2 separate regions of the Homo sapiens genome follow, and region 2 is linked to region 1. Evidence: promoter capture Hi-C in human tissues and cell types (Jung and others, 2019). All regions are on one chromosome and are shown on one strand. Each heading gives the region's core, a stretch centred on a gene start or on the middle of the fragment in contact. The rest is flanking DNA. Distances are from core to core; before and after follow the strand shown.

Region 1 (6,716 bases), core at 3,045-5,544:
CCCTGATGGGGATGTGTATCCTGGATGCAGTCTGTCCCCTTCTCACACTTTGGGGACTTAGAGTTTTTTGGCTGTTTCACAGTGTAGGCTGTAGCCTGCCACTTCTTTCAAACAGCCTGTGCTTCTTTCAGTTTTCTTGTTAAGTTCCTGTGTTGCTTCTTGAAAAAAGTTCACAGCATAAATCTCTACATGCTATTCTGTCCTTTCAAGTGGGAGAGGTGTGCTAACACTGCTTCTAAGCTTCCTTCTTGGAAGAAAAAAAACCCAGCAGAGCAGCCTCTAATATTTATCATTCTGTTTTTCTTTATGGGTATCCCTCTCATTAAATGTCTCATTGATCTCACAATACAATTAGCAACCTGCACCAGGTACAAGCAGATGGTTTTGCTAGTCATAAATGAGCAAACTGGAGGAGAAATAAACTTAAGGGAAGAATGCCTCTTTTTCCCTTGAACAAACTACGGTCAGGCTTCTGAACCTTCTCTTTGGCTGACTTGTGTACTTTCTTGTAAAATCTAGTTCTAGTAAATAATGCAGAAAGACAATCTAGCAAGAATCCTCCCATCCTCAATACCTGATGACCTTCTATATCTGATCAAAATTCTTCCCTTCCCATTCTTGGTATCTGAATACTCTGGCTTGCCTTCAGCAAAAATCCTGTTAGGATTCAGGTGCTATGGATTCAGTGGGCTATGATCATACCACTGCACTCCAGCATGGGTGACAATGTGATTTATTTATCTCAAATATAAATAAATAAAAGAATAAATAAATCCTTTTCGATTGGTTCAACCAGAATTCCCCCTAGATTTGATGTCTCTTCTTAATAATTTTTCATTCGCTGGCCACCCCCTGCTTCTTTGGCTACAAGACCTCCCTTTTCCCTGCTGCATTTGAAATGAAGCTCTACACTGGGGTTTTTCTGCCCCTATGGCAATAGTCCTGAATCAACTTTGTATTTAGCACTTTAACTTTTGTCCTGCTCTGGTTTTCTTTGACACTAGCTTAGTGCATAGCAAGATAGCAATTTCTCAGTAAATTTTTTTCATATTTGTGTATTTAATAAATAAATATTGTTTAGATGCTTGGAATCCCTATTTTCTGCATCATTTATGCCTAACAGCATCTTAATGTTCTGTTATTGCTGTGAGCCCATCAGTAATTTACAATTAAAGTAGTTCAGGTTGGTGGAACTGCTAATAACAAGCCAGTGCCCTATTTAGATGTTTTGATTATTAAAAAATGTATCTATGTATATAGGTATTAACTGTATGTATACATGTATTGTAAGTATATATTTATGTGTATATGTGTCATTTGTATAATATCCATATGGACATGTAATATATATGTACATTTGTACTGCATTAATGTATATATATATTATAAGTATGTATATAGGTATTATATACCTATATACACATTTGGTGATAGGCAAGTATTGTAAAATGTTAATAATTGTTCAATAATTGTTAACAATTGTTTGATTGCTTAATTGGCTAAAAGAAGTATATGAATGTTAATCATATACTTTTTTCAACTTTTCTGTAGGTTTGAAATTTTTCAAAATAAATTTGGAGGTAAATGTCTTTGATCCATATCTCTTTTGAATCTCTGCCCTATTTCTCTGCCCACTTCACAGCTGAGATTGTTAAAATGTTTCCTCTCCTGCTTTTAGTTTGTGCTATGTACAGTATGACTTAGTGGTTAAGACCATGGATTCTGGAGCCAGATAGCCTGGGTTTGGTTCCTGAGCTCTACCACTGTATTTCTGTAGACAAGAAATTTCTCTGTCCCTCATTTTTTTTAAAGTAAGGTTATTAGAAATTAAAATAGTAATAAGAGTAAAAAACCTAATTAATTTGCTGTACAGTAAAATGGATACCACTGAAAAGTTATTTGAAAACTAAAAGATCACCTGAGGATTAATTTAAAATAGAATATAAAGAGACAAATACGAGTGATAGTCAAGAAGCAGGAATGTATCCGTTAGTATTTATTCAGTCATGAATAAAACATCTCTGCCAAATAAGCTTAAAAGATAAGAAGGTCTATTGGATTATACAGTCAGAAGAGATGGTTTACTCCAGAGATTTTGGGTCTATTTCTGTGTGATTTCTTCAGCTATGCCCTCATTTGAGTATTGACTACAACTCCAGGCTGGTTTTCCTCTTGATGGTGAAAGGGAATTGGCTCTGCTGGGTTTCATATCCGCATACCGTAACACTCAGAGAGAGAAAGACTATTTTTTGTGGATCTCTTTTAAAATAAGAAAACTCATTTTTCAGGAAAAAATCACCTTTTCTGTCTCACTGGCTCCATATAAGTCACAAACTCTTCCCTGAATAGATGTCTGGGATTCAGTGTTACTAAGAGTTGAGAGTGAATGACACAGAAACACACTTTTTATTTATTTCTATATATTTTTTGAGGCAGAGTCTCACTCTGACACCAAAGCTAGAGTGCAGTGGCCTGATCTCAGCTCACTGCAACATCCACCTCCAGGGTTCAAGCGATCCTCCTGCTTCAGTCTCCTAGGTAGTCGAGATTATAAGGATGCACCATGCCTGGCTAATTTTAAAAATATTTTTAGTAGAGATGGGGTTTCACTATGTTGGCCAGGCTAGTTTCAAACTCCTGACCTCAGGTGATCTACCTGCCTTGGCCTCTGGAAGTGCTAGGATTACAGGCATAAGCCCAGATTACTGTGCCAAGCCCAGAAATACATTTTTAAAATTATGGCATTATAGAAAGGGAAAAGCAATCAATACAGGTACTCTGTTTCATAGAACTTGAGAATGTAAAATGACTAATGACTAACACTAAATATGAAAATATTATTGATTAGAGAATACATATTCTGCATGAATAATTTTTCAAGCAATCTCTTGAAAGAACTCAAAAAAAGTTAGAATCAAATTCAGACAGACAATTTACTTCTCACAGATGATTCTGGTTAAAAAGGGACTAATGTTTGAGAACTTGGAATGTGCCTGAGTTCGTAAAATTATGCTTTAAGATTCCAGAAATTTGCCAACAATAGTAAATGCACACTACCGTTATATGTACTGACATTTATTCCTAGTATTTGTTGGATTTGCTGAAAATTGTAACTAATTACACTCTGACACAATCTGAGACTTCATGAATAATTTAGTTCACTTTTGATGAACACTAGTAGCTTAGATTTTGAAGTATATTTTACAGGAATTTCTCCTTTCTGAACATTTTGAACTCCTATATCATTATTTTTAAATAATTTAATATTTTATATTCAAAGTGGCCTTGTAAACTGCCTCACTATCCCTTGATTTAAAATAAAGTATTATCAAGTTGCCAGAGGGGATGACATTTGTTTCAGAATGTGACAAAATTTTCTCTTCTTCATAATTTTTTTCATAATATTTATTACTTCCTTATTTCTTAGGCTATAAATAAAAGGATTTAATAAAGGAATAACTAAAGTATAAAATATAGCAACAGGTATATCTTTATCCCCTTCATTAACTGCACCTGGTCGAGCATACATGAAGAGAAGGGAATCACAGAATATTGACACAGAGAGAAAGTGAGATGCACAAGTAGATAAAGCTTTGCCTCTTCCCTCCTTGGATTTCATTGTAAATATTGTGAAAAGGATGTAGAAATAAGAAACTAAGACTATAGTAAAGATTTGAATTGATCCTGCCAAGATAAATAACACCAATTCATTGATATAAGGGTTAATACAAGAAAGTCTATATAATGGAAGAACATCACAGAAAAAATGATTGATTTGATGAGACCCACAGAAAGTTAACCTCAACAGAAACTCTACTTCAATCATGGGATGCAGGTTGCCAGCTAGGTAGGCTCCTGCAGTCATCTGAATGCAGAGTGTCTTGGACATCATGGTGTGGTACTGCAGTGGGTTGCATATGGCCACATAGCAGTCATAGGCCATTGCCGCCAGAAGAAAGCAGTCTGTAGTTTCAGCAAGACAGAGAAAATAAAATTGTGCCATACATTCATACAGGGTAATCCTTTTGTCCTCAGAAAAGAAGTTCTCTAACATCTTGGGAGTAATAGCAGAGGAACAGCAGGAATCCATCAGAACTAGGTTGCCTAAAAATATGTACATTGGTGTGTGAAGACGTTGCTCTATATAAATCAATGCCACCAAACCAATGTTCCCCACCATGGTGATCAGATAGATGGCAAAGAACACCACAAACAGAACAGTCTTCAGCTTTGGATGATATGTAAATCCTGTGAGGATGAACTCAGCTATCAAGGAGTGATTCTCCTTATTCATCTCCACCTTGTCTGTTGAGAGATGAATGAGGGGTTATAATATTGTAATTGATTGTAATTGAGAGCATATTATTGTTCCTTCAATTTTTTTCCTTTTTACAACAAGTAGAGGAATTTCTTTGTCATATTTCCCCTGCTGTTTCTAAATACATCCTCACATACTTCTAGGGGACATTTGTTCTCCTAAAGTGTCAGTGTCTGTGACCTCAAGCTCTGACCCTTAGGATTCACAAGGATATTTTGATAATTCCAGGGAAGATGTTTAAAGTGGAAATGGTTCATCTTTATAAATTTATGCAAGGATAGCATAAAAAACTAGGGGACCCCTATCTGGTTCATTGTTCTCAAATAATTTCACTGTCAGTTTTGTATTGAAGATCCTCCTTAAAACAAATTTATAATATATATATATATGTCATATAATATAGAATATATATATTATATGGGGCTATATATATATATATACACACACACACACGCACACACATCTCTCTCCAAGAAAATAATTTCTATATATTCTTCCAGTAGATTGAATGTTTTAAAAAAGCATATAACAGATATGTTAAATTTATATCTTAGGAACTGTATGAAATTCACCAAGAACTGAGGAGGAAAATATTTATCTTTAAAGAAAATTATCTTGGAGATTTAAAGAAATAAACATCCGTAGATTATCACTTGTCTCATCCCTTTCCCCAGTGTCACACCCATTTCATAAACATTGACTCTATCCATTCTATTATTCCTGTTGATTTTCTCTTACATGCCTAAATCCTTCCTCCTTTTGATAAGGAATACTTTTTATATAATGCTACTTAAAGTTTTAACTAATTGCCCCAGTCCACACAGATTTCCATTTTCCGAACGGTAGATGCTCTCTTATATACTCCACACAATTCAGAATTTCTTGCCTATATATACATTGCTTTTTAAAAATGTCAGTCTATTCAATTTTCTTATATTGTAAGCATTTTGAGGTTAGTTGTGATTTATACTTCTGTGAAAAGAGCTGTAAAATACTATGGGGGAAAAGGCAGTATTAATTTCAGTATTAGCTCCACCCTGATGACCTGGAATGAGTAAAGTTGCTTTATGAATTCTACTAATGATCCTTAATGATTCTTTGGTTTCTGCAGACTATTAGCTTTAAAGGAAAGTCTACAAAGAAATATATAAAATCATTACATAAAATTTTAGGTGTCTTTCTTTTATCTAAATTGACTCTTTTCTACCATTTTTCTGTTTCTTCAGAAAATTATATAAGATTTTCTGAAGTATACTATAGCAGATTAAAAGCTACTAAGTAAAAGCAAGCTCACCTTTATACTATAGCCTTCTAACACTTAGGAAAAAGGAGAAAATCCTTTATATCTTAATAGGATTTTTGAAGTCAAATTTTGTTTTGCTTTAAAAGGCTATTTCCTTTCCCTGCATAGTGATTCATTAGGACATACTGACTGATAATTCAAATCATATAAGTTCTATGGTCAAAATAGACATGTTTTTATATTCAAAATATTAAAACAAAAACATGGGCTGACTATTTTATTAATTCGTTTTAAAATAATAAATGTAAGCCATGTAGTCAGTTAAGTTAGCAATAACTTTCTATGTACATGCCTAAATTATTTAACAGAATTTCTTTGTAACTTTACTTATGTGTTTTGAAATTCTGTTACAATCAGAAAGTCAGACAAATTGCAGTATTGTGTCTCATCCTAGTTCTTCATAGCATTCAATTTTGAAAAGTGCTAGAAAGATTAGAAAAAAGCTGAAATTTAAGAACAATAAAAGATACTAAATAATTCAGAGGTACTAAATAATTCAGAGCTTTATGGTTGCTAAAATTAGAAGTAAAAATAAGTTAGCACGCTTCTCTTACCTAGATTTTACTGAGAAGAGCTTTGTAACAGCTTTATGATGTGGTTTTCATAAAATTAAAGAATATAAACCTTGGCCTCTAAAACATTTGGGATTAAAAGAATGAAAATCTAGGAGACTACTAGTAGGTCAGTGTTGATAATTATATCTGTAACACTGCAAAGTTAAAGCTTTCCACCAAATCCTAAAGGGATTTCTCTGCACTGACATCAGTGTAATTCTGTGGACTCAGTCCTAAAAATATATAAACCACTTGAAATTAATTAAAGATGTCTTGTGAGATAATGAGGTAAAAACAAATGACCTTCACTAAAGTCTGTTTGATGATCATCTTGCTGATTCATATGAAACCGATCTCATTTTTACAATTTTATTCACTATTCTGAACATACAAGATAAAACAGGCAGAAAATAGTCTCAGGCTGGTTTGACCTGTTACTGGGGGAAGTGTGACTAATATGCTTTGTAGAAAATAATTAGTATTTAAAGAGGATCCAAGAAAGTGTAGAAAGTGCGGCCAAGGTCATCAACTTCTTCACTCT
Region 2 (6,797 bases), core at 2,309-4,808, 140 kb after region 1:
AATGGGGAGCAACTGAAAGCCTTTCTGTCAGGCCTTTGAGCCCACGCTAAGCCATCATATCTCCTGTGACCTGCACTATACATTCGGATGGCCTGAAGTAACTGAAGAATCACTAAAGAAGTGAAAATGGCCTGTTCCTGCCTTAACTGAAGACATTACTTTGTGAAATTCCTTCTCCTGGCTCAAAAGCTCCCCCACTGAGCACCTTGTGTCCCCCGCCCGTCTGCCAGAGAACAACCCCCTTTGACTGTAATTTTCCACTACCTACCCAAATTCTATACAATGGTCCCACCCCTATCTCCCTTTACTGACTCTCTTTTTGGACTCAGCCTGCCTGCACCCAGGTGATTAAAAAGCTTTATCGCTCACACAAAGCCTGTTTGGTGGTCTCCTCACACAGACGCGTGTAACACTTTCCTCTCAGATTTGGAACATGACAAGGATGTTTACTGTCACCACTGTTATTCAATATAATACTGGAAGTACAATCATAGAGGAAAAGGTATAAAGGGCATCTAAATTGGAAAGGAAAAAGTGAAATTATCCTGCTTGCAGATGATATAATTATGTATTTGGAAAAAATGAAAAATTCAAAAAGAAAATTATTAGAACTGGTAAACAAATTCAGTAAACTTGCAGGATACAAAATCAACATACAAAAATAAGTAGCATTTCTATATAGCAACAGTGAACAATATGAAAAAGAAATTCAAAAGTAATCACAGTTACAGTAGCCACATGTAAAATTAAGTATTTAGGAATTAACCAGAGAAGTGAAAGATCTCAATAATGAAAGCTATAAAACATCGATGAAGGCAGTTAAAGATGACATCAAAACATGAAAAGATATTTTATGTTCATGGATTGGAAGAATCAATATTGTTAAAATGTCCACACTGCCAAAAGCAATCTATAGATTCAGTGCATTGCCTATCAAAATACCAATGACATTCTTCAAAGAAATAGAAGAAACAATTCTAAAATATATATAGAATGACAAAAGAAAACCCAGAATAGCCAAAGCTATCCTAAGCTAAGAGAACAAAACTGGAGGAATCATGTTACCTGACTTTAAATATACTACAGAGCTATAGTGTTGTGGGAAGACAGGGACCCTGAATGGAGGGACTGGCTGGAGCCGTGGCAGAGGAACATAAATTGTGAAGGTTTCATTTTAATATGGACATTTATCAGTTCCCAAATAATACTTTTATAATTTCTTATGCCTGTCTTTAATCTCTTAATCCTGTTATCTTCATAAACTGAGGATATACGTCACCTCAGGACCACTGTGATAATTGTGTTAACTGTACAAATTGATTATAAAACGTGTGTTTGAACAATATGAAATCAGTGCACCTTGAAAAAGAACAGAATAACAGCAATTTTTAGGGAACAAGGGAAGACAACCATAAGGTCTGACTGCCTGCAGGGTCGGGCAAAAAGAGCCATATTTTTATTCTTGCAGAGAGCCTATAAATGGACGTGCAAGTAGGCAAGATATCACTAAATTCTTTTCCTAGCAAAGAATATTAATATTAATATCCTCGGAAAGGAATGCATTCCTGCAGGAGGTCTATAAATGGCCGCTCTGGGAATGTCTGTTGTTTAAGATGTTTATCAAGGCAATACGTGCACCACTGAACATAGACCCTTATCAGTAGTTCTGCTTTTGCCCTTTGCCTTGTGATCTTTGTTGGACCCTTATCAGTAGTTCTCCTTTTCGCCCTTTGAAGCATGTCATCTACTCCCCATTCTTACATCCCTTCCCCTTTTGAAACCCTTAATAAAAAACTTGCTGGTTTGAGGCTCAGGTGGGCATCACAGTCCTACCGATATGTGATGTCACCCCTGGTGGCCCAGCTGTAAAATTCCTCTCTTTGTACTCTTTCCCTTTATTTTTCATCCAGCCAACACTTATGGAAAATAGAAAGAACCTATGTTGAAATATTGGGGACAGGTTCCCCTGATACTATAGAAAAAAAAAAACCCAGCACGGTTGACATAAAAATAGACACACAGACCAATGGAACAGAATAAAGAATCCAGAAACAAATGCACACATCTACAGTGAACTCATTTTCAACAAAAATTCCCAGAACACATACTGGAGAAAGACAGTCTCATCAATACATGGTGCTCAGAAAACTAGATATGCATAAGCAAAAGAAAAAAACTAGACCCCTATCTCTCACCATATAGAAAACTGAAATCAAAATGGATTTAAAACTTAAATTCAAGACTTCAAACTATGAAACTACTAAAGAAAACATTGGAGAATATATCCAGAACATTGGGCAGGGCAAAAATTTTTTGAGTAACAACCCAGAAGCACAGCAAACTAAGCAAAAATGGACAAATGACACCACATCAAGTTAAAAAGCTTCAGCACAGCAATGGATACAAGCATCAAAGTGAAGAGACAACCCAGAGAATGGGAGAAAATATTTACAAACTACCCATCTGACAAGGGATTAATAGCCAGAATATATAAGGAGCTCAAACATCTCTATAGGAAAAAAATTGAATAATCTGATTTTTAAAATGGGCAAAAGATTTGAATACACATTTCTGAAAAGAAGTCATATGAATGAAAAACAGGCATTTGAAAGGTGCTCTACATCATATTGATCATTAGATAAATGCAAATTAAAACTACAATGAGATATCATCTCACTCCAGTTAAAATGGCTTGCCTCCAAAAGACAGGCAATAATAAATGCTGGCAAGGATGTGGAGAAAAGAGAACCCTTATACACTGTTGTTGGGAATGTAAATTAGTATAAACACTATGGAGAACAGTTTGGTGGTTCCTCTAAAAACTGAAAATAGAGCTACCATATGATGCAGTAATTCCACTGCTGGATATATACTCCCCCAAAAAGGAAAGCAGTATATTGAATAGATATCTGCATGCACATATGTGTTGCAGCATGGTTCACAATAGCCAAGATTTGGAAGCAACCTAAGTATCCATCAACAAATGAATGGATAAAGAAAATGTGGCATGTATACCCAACGAGTCTCAATTCAGCCATAAAAAAGAATGAGACGCTGTCATTTCCAACAACATGGATGGAACTGGAGATCATCATGTTAAATGAAATAAGTCAGGTAAAGAAAGACAAACATCACACATTCTCACTTACTTGTGGCATCTAAAAACCAAAACAATTGAATTCATGCACACAGAGAGTAGAAGAATGTTAACCAGAGGCTGAGAAGGGTATTGGGTATTTCAGGGGCACTTGGGGATGCTTGATGGATACAAATAATAGATAGAAAGAATAAATAAGACCTACTATTTGATATCACAAAAGGGCGACTGTAGTAAATAATTTTTAAAAACTATTTATTAAGCTTTAAGTTCTGGGATACATGTGCAGAAAGTTCCGGTTTGTTACATATGTATACATGTGCCATGGTGGTTTGCTGCACCCATCAACCCGTCATCTAGGTTTTAAGCTCTGCATGCATTAAGTATTTGTCCTTATGCTCTCCCTCCCTACGGCCCCCACACCCCAACAGGCTCTGATGCTTAGTGTTACCCTCCCTGTGTCCATGTGTTCTCATGGTTTAACTCCCACTTATGAGTGAGAACATGCAGTGTTTGATTTTCTGTTCTTGTGTCAGTTTGCTGAGAATGATGGTTTCCAACTTCATCCATATCCCTGCAAAGGACATGAACTTGTTCTTTTTTGTGGCAGCATAGTATTCCATGGTGTATATGTGCCACATTTTCTTTATCCAGTCTATCATTGATGGGCATTTGGGTTGGTTCCAAGTCTTTCCTATTGTGAATAGCACTTCAATAAACATACAAATGCATGTGTCTGTATAGTAGAATGATTTATATTCCTTTGGGTATATACCCAGTAATAGGATTTCTGGGTCAAATGGTATTTCTGGTTCTAGATCCTTGAGGAATCACCACACTGTCTTCCACAATAGCTGAACTAATTTACACTGCCACCAACAGTGTAAAAGCATTCCTATTTCTCCACATCCTCTCCAGCATCTGTTGTTTCCTGACTTTTTAATGATCGCCATTCTAATTGGGGTGAGATGGTATCTCACTGTGGTTTTGATTTGCATTTCTCTAATGACCAGTGATGATGAGCCTTTTTTCATATATTTCTTGGCCACATAATGTCCTCTTTTGAGAAGTTCATATCCTTTGCCCACTTTTTGATGGTATTGCTTGTTTTTCTCTTGTAAATTTGTTTAAGTTCCTTGTAGATTCTGGAGATCACACCTTTGTCAGATGGATAGATTGCAAAAGTTTTCTCCTATTTGCTAGGTTGCCTCTTCACTTGTATGTTTAAAAATAACTGAAAGAGTATAAGTGGATTATTTGTAACACAAAAAAAATGTGTAAAAGGATATATACTCTATTCTCCATGATATGATTATTAATACCCAGTATTTGGTAGACAGAAGGTTTACTATAGTCAAAATAATTTAATTGTACATTTTACAATTACCAAGAAATACACTTGGATTGTTTGTATCACTAAGGATAAATGGTTGATGGGATGGATACCTCATTTTCCATGATGTGATTATAACATGTTGCATACCTATATCAAAATATCTCATGTACCCCATGTATATATATATGAATATATATGTACCCACAAGTATTAAATATATAATATATATAATATAGAGAGAGAGACTAACACATCAATAAAGACACAAATGCATGTGTCTGTATAGTAGAATAAGTATAAATATATAAAAAAATACTCTGGGGTACATATATACATATACATACATGTACATATATACACATATATACATATACATACACACACTCACATACATATATATATGTATCCACAAGTATTAAAAATAAAAATTTTAAACTTTTAAGTTCAGGGGTACATGTGAAGGTTGTGCAGGTTTGTTACATAGGTAAACGTGTGTCAAGGGGGTTTGCTGTACAGATTATGTCACCAGCCAGGCATTAAGCCCAGATTTCATTAGTTATTTTTTTGATATTCTCCCTCCTCCCACCCTCCATCCTCCAATAGGTCCCAGTGTGTGCTGTTCCCAACTAAGTGTCCATATATTCTCATCATTTAGCTCCCACTTATAAGTGAGAACCTTGTAGTATTTAGTTTTCTGTCTCTCCATTAGTTTGCTAAGGATGACGGCCTCCTGCTCTATCCATGTTGCTGCAAAGGACACGGTATCATTCCTTTCTATGACTGTATAGTATTCCATGGTGTATATGTACTGCATTTTCATTATCCAGTCTATTATTGATGAGCATTTAGGTTGATTCCATGTTTTTGCTATGTGATTAATGCTGTAATGAACATACACATGTATGTGTCTTCATAATAGAACAATTTACATTCCTTTGGGTATACCCTCAGTAATTGGATTGCTGGGTCAAAAGGTATTTCTGTTCTTATGTCTTTGAGAAATCACCACACTGTCTTCCACAGTGGTAGAGCCAGTTTACACTCCCATCAACACTGTCTAAGTGTTCCATTTTTCTCCACAACCTCACTAGCATATATTATTCTTTGACTTTTTAATAATAGCCATTCTGACTGGTGTGAGACGGTATGTCATTGTGGTTTTGATTTGCATTTCTCTAATGATCAGTGATGTTGAGCTTTTTTTGATATGTTTTTTGGCCACATAAATGTCTTCTTTTAGAAGTGTCTGTTCATATCGTTCACCCACATTTTGATAGGGTTTTTTTTTTTCTTGTAAATTTGTTTATGTTCATTATAGATGCTGGATGTTAGATCTTTGTCGGATGCACACACTGCAAAAATTTTCTCACATTCTTAGGTTGTTTGTTTACCCCATGTTGATAGTTTCTTTTGCTCTGCAGAAGCTCTTTAGTTTAATTAGATCCCATTGGTCAATTTGTGCTTTTGTTGCAATCAGTTTTGGTATCTTTGTCATGAAATCTTTGCCCATGCCTATGTCCTGAATTGTATTGCCTAGGTATTCTTCTAAGGTTTCTATAGTTTTGGGTTTTACATTTAACTCTTTAATTTATCTTGAGTTTATTTTGGTATATGGTGTAAGGAAGAAGTTCAGTTTCAATTTTCTGCATAAGGCTAGCCAGTTCTCTTAACACCGCTTTTTAAATAAAGAATCCTTTCCCCATTGCTTGTTTTGTTGAAGACCAGATGGTTGTAGGTATGTGGTCTTATTTCTAGGTTCTCTATTATGTTCCATTGGTCTATGTATCTGTTCTTGTACCAGTACCATGCTGTTTTGGTTAATGTAGCCCTGTAGTATAGTTTGAAGTAGGGTAGCATGATGGCTCTATCTTTGTTCTTTCTGCTTGGGATGGCCTTGGCTATTCAGGCTCTTTTTCCATATGAATTGTTCCATATGAATTCTAAAACAGTTTTTTCTAGTTCTCTGATGAATCTAATGATAGGAATAGCATTGAATCTATAAATTGCTTTGGGCGTTTAGGCCATTTTAATGATACTGGTTCTTCCTATCCATGAGCATGAAATGTCTTTCCATTTGTATGAGTCATCTCTGATTTTTTTGAGAAGGGTTTTGTAGTTCTACTTGTAGAGATCTTTCTGTTATGCATGCCCGTGTGAGACCATCTGAGCAGGCTTAGTGAGAGCAACAAGTCTGTTTATTCACTTGGGTGCGAGTGGGCTGAGTCTGAGAAAGAAGTCAGCAAAGAGTGGTGGGATTATCATTGATTCTTATAGGTTTGGGATAGGCGGTGGAGTCAGGAGCAATTTATTGCTGGCAGTGGATGGATGTTACAAAATACATTCTCAAGGGTGGGGAGGATGTTA

The links. Contacts are between HindIII fragments. The study calls those that stand out against the background at their distance.
Region 2: a contact is called between a fragment that was not itself captured here and the fragment with the promoter of OR5K3 in region 1, in 2 of the 25 tissues and cell types used here (adrenal gland and aorta).

Annotation. Positions count from the first base shown.
Region 1 is chr3:98,388,244-98,394,959 of GRCh38, reverse strand. OR5K3 (olfactory receptor family 5 subfamily K member 3) reads right to left here and starts at 4,294. Exons shown (of 1, transcript NM_001005516.1): 1 at 3,329-4,294. The coding sequence starts at 4,294. The coding sequence ends at 3,329. The HindIII fragment of the contact is 5,260 bases long and covers 2,813-6,716 here.
Region 2 is chr3:98,249,618-98,256,414 of GRCh38, reverse strand. No RefSeq gene overlaps it. Among named protein-coding and RNA genes, the nearest start is that of OR5H6, 11 kb to the left of the region's middle. The HindIII fragment of the contact is 4,375 bases long and covers 1,371-5,745 here.